Linked DNA regions of Homo sapiens: region 1 is linked to region 2. Evidence: promoter capture Hi-C in 16 types of primary human blood cells and fetal thymus (Javierre and others, 2016). All regions are on one chromosome and are shown on one strand. Each heading gives the region's core, a stretch centred on a gene start or on the middle of the fragment in contact. The rest is flanking DNA. Distances are from core to core; before and after follow the strand shown.

Region 1 (2,713 bases), core at 193-2,692, 150 kb before region 2:
CTCAGGAGGCTGAGGTGAGGGAGAATTACTTGAACCTGGTGGAGGTTGCAGTGATGAGAACGTGCCACTGCACTCCAGCCTGGGCAACAGAGTGAGCCTCTGTCTCCAAAAAAAAACTTTTTTTTTCCCCCAGAAAAGAGAATAGATAACGTCCTTCTCTGCTTTTTGAAATTTAGGGAGGAGAGTAATTCTGCCAGTAAACTGGAAAATTTCCCAGCACCTCCCAAGATATCAGCAGAGTTAGGAACCCTGTGCACACCTGATCCTCGCTTCTCTAAGCTACTTTTCACTCTGCTCTGCTCTAGCCCAGAGGGGTGATGGTAGGGGTGGAGGGTAGGCGTGGGGGTGAGGATGGGGGTGAGGGGGAGGGGTAGGGGTGGGGGTGAGGGGTAGGGGTGGGGGTGAGGGAAAGGGTTGGGGGTGAGGGTGAGGGGTAGGGGTGAGGGGTAGGGGTGGGGGTGAGGGGTAGGGGTGGAGGTGAGAGGTTGGGGGGTCAGGGGTGGGGGTGGGGGTAGGGGTGGGGGTAGGGTGGGGGTGGAGGGTAGGGGTGGGGGTAGGGGTGGGGGTGGAGAGTAGAGGTGGGGGTGAGGATGGGGTGAGGGGTTGGGGTGGGGGTGGGGGTGAGGGATGGGGGTGAGGGGTAGTGGTAGGAGTAGGGTCAATGGTAGGGGTATGGGTGGAACTCTGGAGGACAGCAGCCTGCTTCTTTCCTAAGTGATTCTCCACCAGGGCCCAGAGAGGGTGCCACTGAGTTAGAAGGGAAACCCAGTTCTCAGAAGACTGGGAAGCCGCCTTCTTGCCAGTTGCCAACCGGGACGTGAGCTGAGTTTTAGCTTGCAGAGGCGCTGTCTCTTCCAAGCTGACGGAAGCTGGTGGACTGCACTTTGGGATGACAAGCCAGACTTCTAAAGGGTTTTTAGAAGCAGGGCTTAGGCCAAAGGCCAAATTGATGGGGATTTCATTCCCTTCTCTGTAAACCACGGGGGTGGAATCTATGGCTTCTCAAGTCCTCCCAGCACTGGGATTCTAGACTCTGACCCCTATGTGTGCGACAGCACTCAGGTGCACCCCTGAAATCCTTTTTATCCCTTCTCATTCCACCATTTAACTTGTGAATTGTCAACAGTGGGAACACAGAGACCTTGTTTTTACTATTTCCTATGGTTTAATTTCCTCCAGAGCTATAACACCACCACTTTCCCCCATATACACACACACAACTTTAAATGTAAAAAAGATGTCCTTTCTGTGTAAAACTGGATAGGTTTATAGTGAAGCTTTATCTGACCATTCATCAAAAAGCCACCAAGACTGTAACATAACTGTCCTCCAAACTCAGCAACCATTACGAGCGCTCTCCCCAGACTTGTAAATGTTCTTTCTGGGCAATGGGACAGTGAGTGTGGTACCATTTCTGCACCTGCCACCAACGGCCCCACTAGCCCACCAGCTACCCGGCTCAGGGAAGCTCATGGCCAAGGCAGCCAAGGCCACCGCCTGTCCCTAGTTTCTTTGAAAGGAAAACCAGAGGGCAGAGGATTACTCCTTTACTGCACTCGCAAGGAAACTTGGCAGGGCGTCTTCTGCCAGCCTTCTTAGGTGCGCGGGAAGCTTGGGTGGGGTGCAATCCATAAGCTTCTGAAAATAAAAATTATACTGCCCCACTGAACGGTTTCCAAATAGCCCAGATAAGCCAACCCCTTTTTAAAATTTTTTTATTTTTAAGTGTTTCCATTCTCTGATCTGGAATTTTATATATAGTACATTTAATGCCCAGTTGTTATATATTAGTCATGCCAGAACAAAGTGTAGAAAAGTTGAAGCATGAATAGTTTTCAGGGAGACCCAAATAGAGTGTAAGGACAGTCAATTCATTCTTTTTGTTTGTTTTGAGACGAGGTTTTATTCTGTCACCCAAGCTGGAGTGCAGTAATGGGATTACAGCTCACTACAGCTTCAACCTTCGGGGCTCAAGCAATCCTCCCATCTCTGCCTCCTGAGTAGCTGGGGTACAGGGGCACACTGCCGTGTCCAGCTAATTTTTGTATTTTTTGGAGAGATGGAGTTTTTGTCATCTTTTCCAGGCGGGTCTAGAACTCCTGGGCTCAAGCAATCTGCCCGCCTCAGCTTCCCAAATTTGCTGGGATTATAGGTGTGAGCCACCATGCCCAGCCAGGACAGTCAATTCTTTAAAAAAGCCCCCAAACCCTTCACTGAATAGTATTCCACATGACATTCTAAGTTCAGAGAGGCTGGGGGGATGGGTGTTGAGACAAGAGCAAGATGAGGGAAATAAGAGGAAAAACCTGAAGTGGAATGGAATATGCCCCAGGAGCTGTCAATCATCCATGTAAAGTGATTCATCAGGAATAATCAAGCCAGGCGTGGTGGCTCACACCTGTAATCCCAGCACTTTGGGAGGCCAAGGCAGGAGGATCACTTGAGATCAGGCATTCGAGACCAGCCTGTCCAACATGGTGAAAATACAAAAATTACTACAAAAATTAGTCAGGCATGGTGGTGCACACCTGTAATCCCAGCTACTCAGGAGGCTGAGGCAGGAGAATTGCTTGAAACTGGGAGGCAGAGGTTGCAGTGAGCCGAGATTGCACCACTGCACTCCAGCCTGGGCGACACAGCCTGGGTGACAGAGTGAGACCCTGTCTCAAAAAAAAAAAAAAAAAAAAAAGGATAATCAAAAAGTCATCTAATA
Region 2 (2,781 bases), core at 265-2,764:
TTCACAAGTTTACCCTCCAAAAGTCAGACACCCTTAGAACAATCTCTGGCAAGTGCCATGTAATGAACCCTATCCTCAGACCAAACGTTTTCTCCCAAAGAACTGGCACAGCCACCAGCTTTGTCTCAGGAAATTCACTCCCCCAGTAGCCCAGGGCGGGATTTCTTGCCTACCCAGTCTGCCAGTCCGAGGCCCGCGCGCTTACCATTGGCGTTCTTGCCGCAGATGAGATGCTCATAGGGCTGCAAGACGCCCCAGAGCTCGGCGTCGTTGTTGATGACCATCTCCAGGGCCTCAGCAGACACCTCCCCGCCTCCGGCCCCTCCGCCATCAGGGCTGTGGCTGGCCATCACCCTGGCCCGGATCTCCTCCACCAGGTTCTCCATGCAGGCGGTGAGGGAGATGGCTGCGTACTCGTGGATGCGCACGGAGATTCGGGTGTCCACCATCCAGCGGAAAAAGCGACCCACTGAGAAGGTGAGGCCGCAGCGCGCGGACTTGCCCCGGCGCAGCCCGTCGCCGGCGCTCATGCTGTACAGGGACAGCGCCTTGACGGCTGCCAGCGCGCAGCTCTCGGCCAGCGCCCAGCTGTGCACCAGGCGCACGGCGCTCTGCACCTCAAAGCGGGTGCACTTGGCGTGCAGCACGCTCAGGCGCTGCGCCTCGCGGGCCACGCGGATCAGTGCCCTGCGGAGCAGCCCGGCCAGGCGCCTCACCGCCTCGGCGGAGAACTGGGGCAGCCGCCGGCCGCCAGCGCCTTTGCGGAGCACCCGGGCCACGTCTCCTTCGGTCCAGGGGAACTCCTCCAGCTCGGGGAGCCGCGGACAGCGCGAGAAGAGGTCGGCCACTTCGGGGTCCTCGGGCAGCACCGTGTTCACCGTGTCCCAGCTGTTGTGGCGGCTGTTCATGGAGCCGGAGTAGCACCACCAGGCCGCCCCGCGGTGCTGCTGCGCCGAAGAGTTGAGCGCCTGCGAGTTGGACTTGGAGGACGAGAGGCTGAGCGAGCGGCACGAGTCCCCGGCCCCATACCCGGAGTCCAAGGTCAAGTCCTCCAGCGTCTTCAGAGTCGAGCTGTACGTCCCGGCCATGGGGAGCCTGCCGAGGGCGGCGTCGCCGAGCGAGGGGCACTCACAACTCCATGCCCTCTTTCCCAAGTGGGCAGAAACAAGCTCTAGGCCCTCCGGGCCACCCTCCTTCCTCTCTGCGTCGCGGGGCTCGGCGGCCGCATTGCCTGCCCGGAGGCCGCGGGAAGGTGGCCGAGATCCGTGGCCAGCAGGAGCCCCACGCTCCCGGCGTCCCGACTCGCAGCTGCCACTGGAAAGAACCCCGTCGCTACCCCCCGGCACTCCCCCTTGTCCACCTCTAATTCCCACAAGCAGAGAGTCAGTCCTCCACAGAGAAGGAATCCCGGGAGAACAGGGCGGCGGCGGCAGAAGGAGGAGGCGGCGGCGCAGGGCGCAGGGCGCAGCGCGAGTCCGGGACCAGCCGGCGAGAAAGCGCTCTGCAAACTTCTGCGCTGCGCCGGCCGGCAGCACAGCTGGGTACCCGGCTGCGTCCGACATGCAAATAACCCCGGGCGGCTTACCAATCACCGGCCGCGATGGGCGGGGCTGCACCAATGATCTCCGAGGGGGCGGTCACTATGCAGATTTCACTCTGCCTCGGGTTAAACCCCGCGGCGAAGGAGGCGGGGCTGGAGGCCGAGGGTCGGGCACGCGGCTGGGATGGGGGTGGGGATGGGGGGGGATGGGGGGGATGGGGGGGTGGGGGAAGGGCGAGCCAGCCAACTGGGAGGTGGAGGTGGAGACCGGAAAGCAGCGGTCGAAACGATAGCTCCGGAGCTCACGATTTAAAGAAAAATGCAAAGGAAAAGCTACAGGGCGCTGCCACCTTCCCGCCACCCAGGCTTTGGGCGTTCGCTGCTCGCTTTCGAGCCCTCCGCAGCCAGGCGTCCTGGGGTTGGGGCCAGGAGAATGGGGAGGGCCCCATCCAGGCGCTCCACCTCTCCTCCACCTTCCGCCAGGCCCCTCCCGCAATCCGAGATGAAACGCTGGCTGTGTTTGGAGGGAGGAGGGAGTCCCTGCCTCTCTTTCCAAGTCCGTCTGGTTCCTTTGCGCTGCCGTCTAGGCTCCAATAAGGACAGAATTTCTTAACCTGGTATCTGATCAATGGACGGGCCCCAGGAAGCCTGTGAGTGCCTCCGCCCATTTGTGGTTTCACCTGCAGTTTTCTGAGTGCCACTATGGGGAAGGGGCACCAACTTTTGTCAGATTCTCAAGAGGATCCGTGACTTCCCTGTTACCTCTGTGTGACGATACCACTTGCTGTCAGGTGGGTCCTTTTTGTCCGAGATAGACAGTGTTCTTACAGGAAGAATGAGAAGAAGGTGGCAGAGCAGTCCCTCGCCCTGGGCTGAGCTCGGAACACCTAGCTGGATGCAGGTGTTCGCCTCCTAACGCGTGCCGGTGGGCGAGCCGTATGCCCCCGCGGGACCCAGTTCCTCCGGGGTACAATGAGTGGCTGACCTCCAGGCAGCGCCAGTGCCAACCTGCCTCCGGGCGGGTGTCCCAAACGGTCCGCCAGAGCGCTGTTGGTTCAGCAGTCCCATGCCCGGTGCAGGCATGTCCCGCCGCTGCCCTGTGGCTACTCACACGCACGTGCGCAAACGGACCTGTGCCCCCTCCAGTGGAACCGCAGGCTCAAGGCGGGGATTGTGCATTCGCTCTCCCCAAGTCAGCCTCCCCCACTCCTGAATGGCTCCTTTGTGTTGCATTTTACACA

Evidence for each region. Contacts are between HindIII fragments. The CHiCAGO score rates a contact against its expected background, and 5 or more counts as called.
Region 1: a contact is called between a fragment that was not itself captured here and the fragment with the promoter of ABTB2 in region 2, in 1 of 17 cell types (M0 macrophages). The highest score is 5.3, in M0 macrophages.

Annotation. Positions count from the first base shown.
Region 1 is chr11:34,209,236-34,211,948 of GRCh38, forward strand. All of the region lies in intron 1 of ABTB2 (ankyrin repeat and BTB domain containing 2), which reads right to left. Among named protein-coding and RNA genes, the nearest start is that of NAT10, 100 kb to the left of the region's middle. The HindIII fragment of the contact is 334 bases long and covers 1,276-1,609 here.
Region 2 is chr11:34,356,496-34,359,276 of GRCh38, forward strand. It overlaps ABTB2 (ankyrin repeat and BTB domain containing 2), which reads right to left and starts at 1,515. Exons shown (of 17, transcript NM_145804.3): 1 at 206-1,515. The coding sequence starts at 1,088. RefSeq lists an enhancer at 441-550 and a silencer at 1,501-1,700. The HindIII fragment of the contact is 9,392 bases long and covers 1-2,781 here.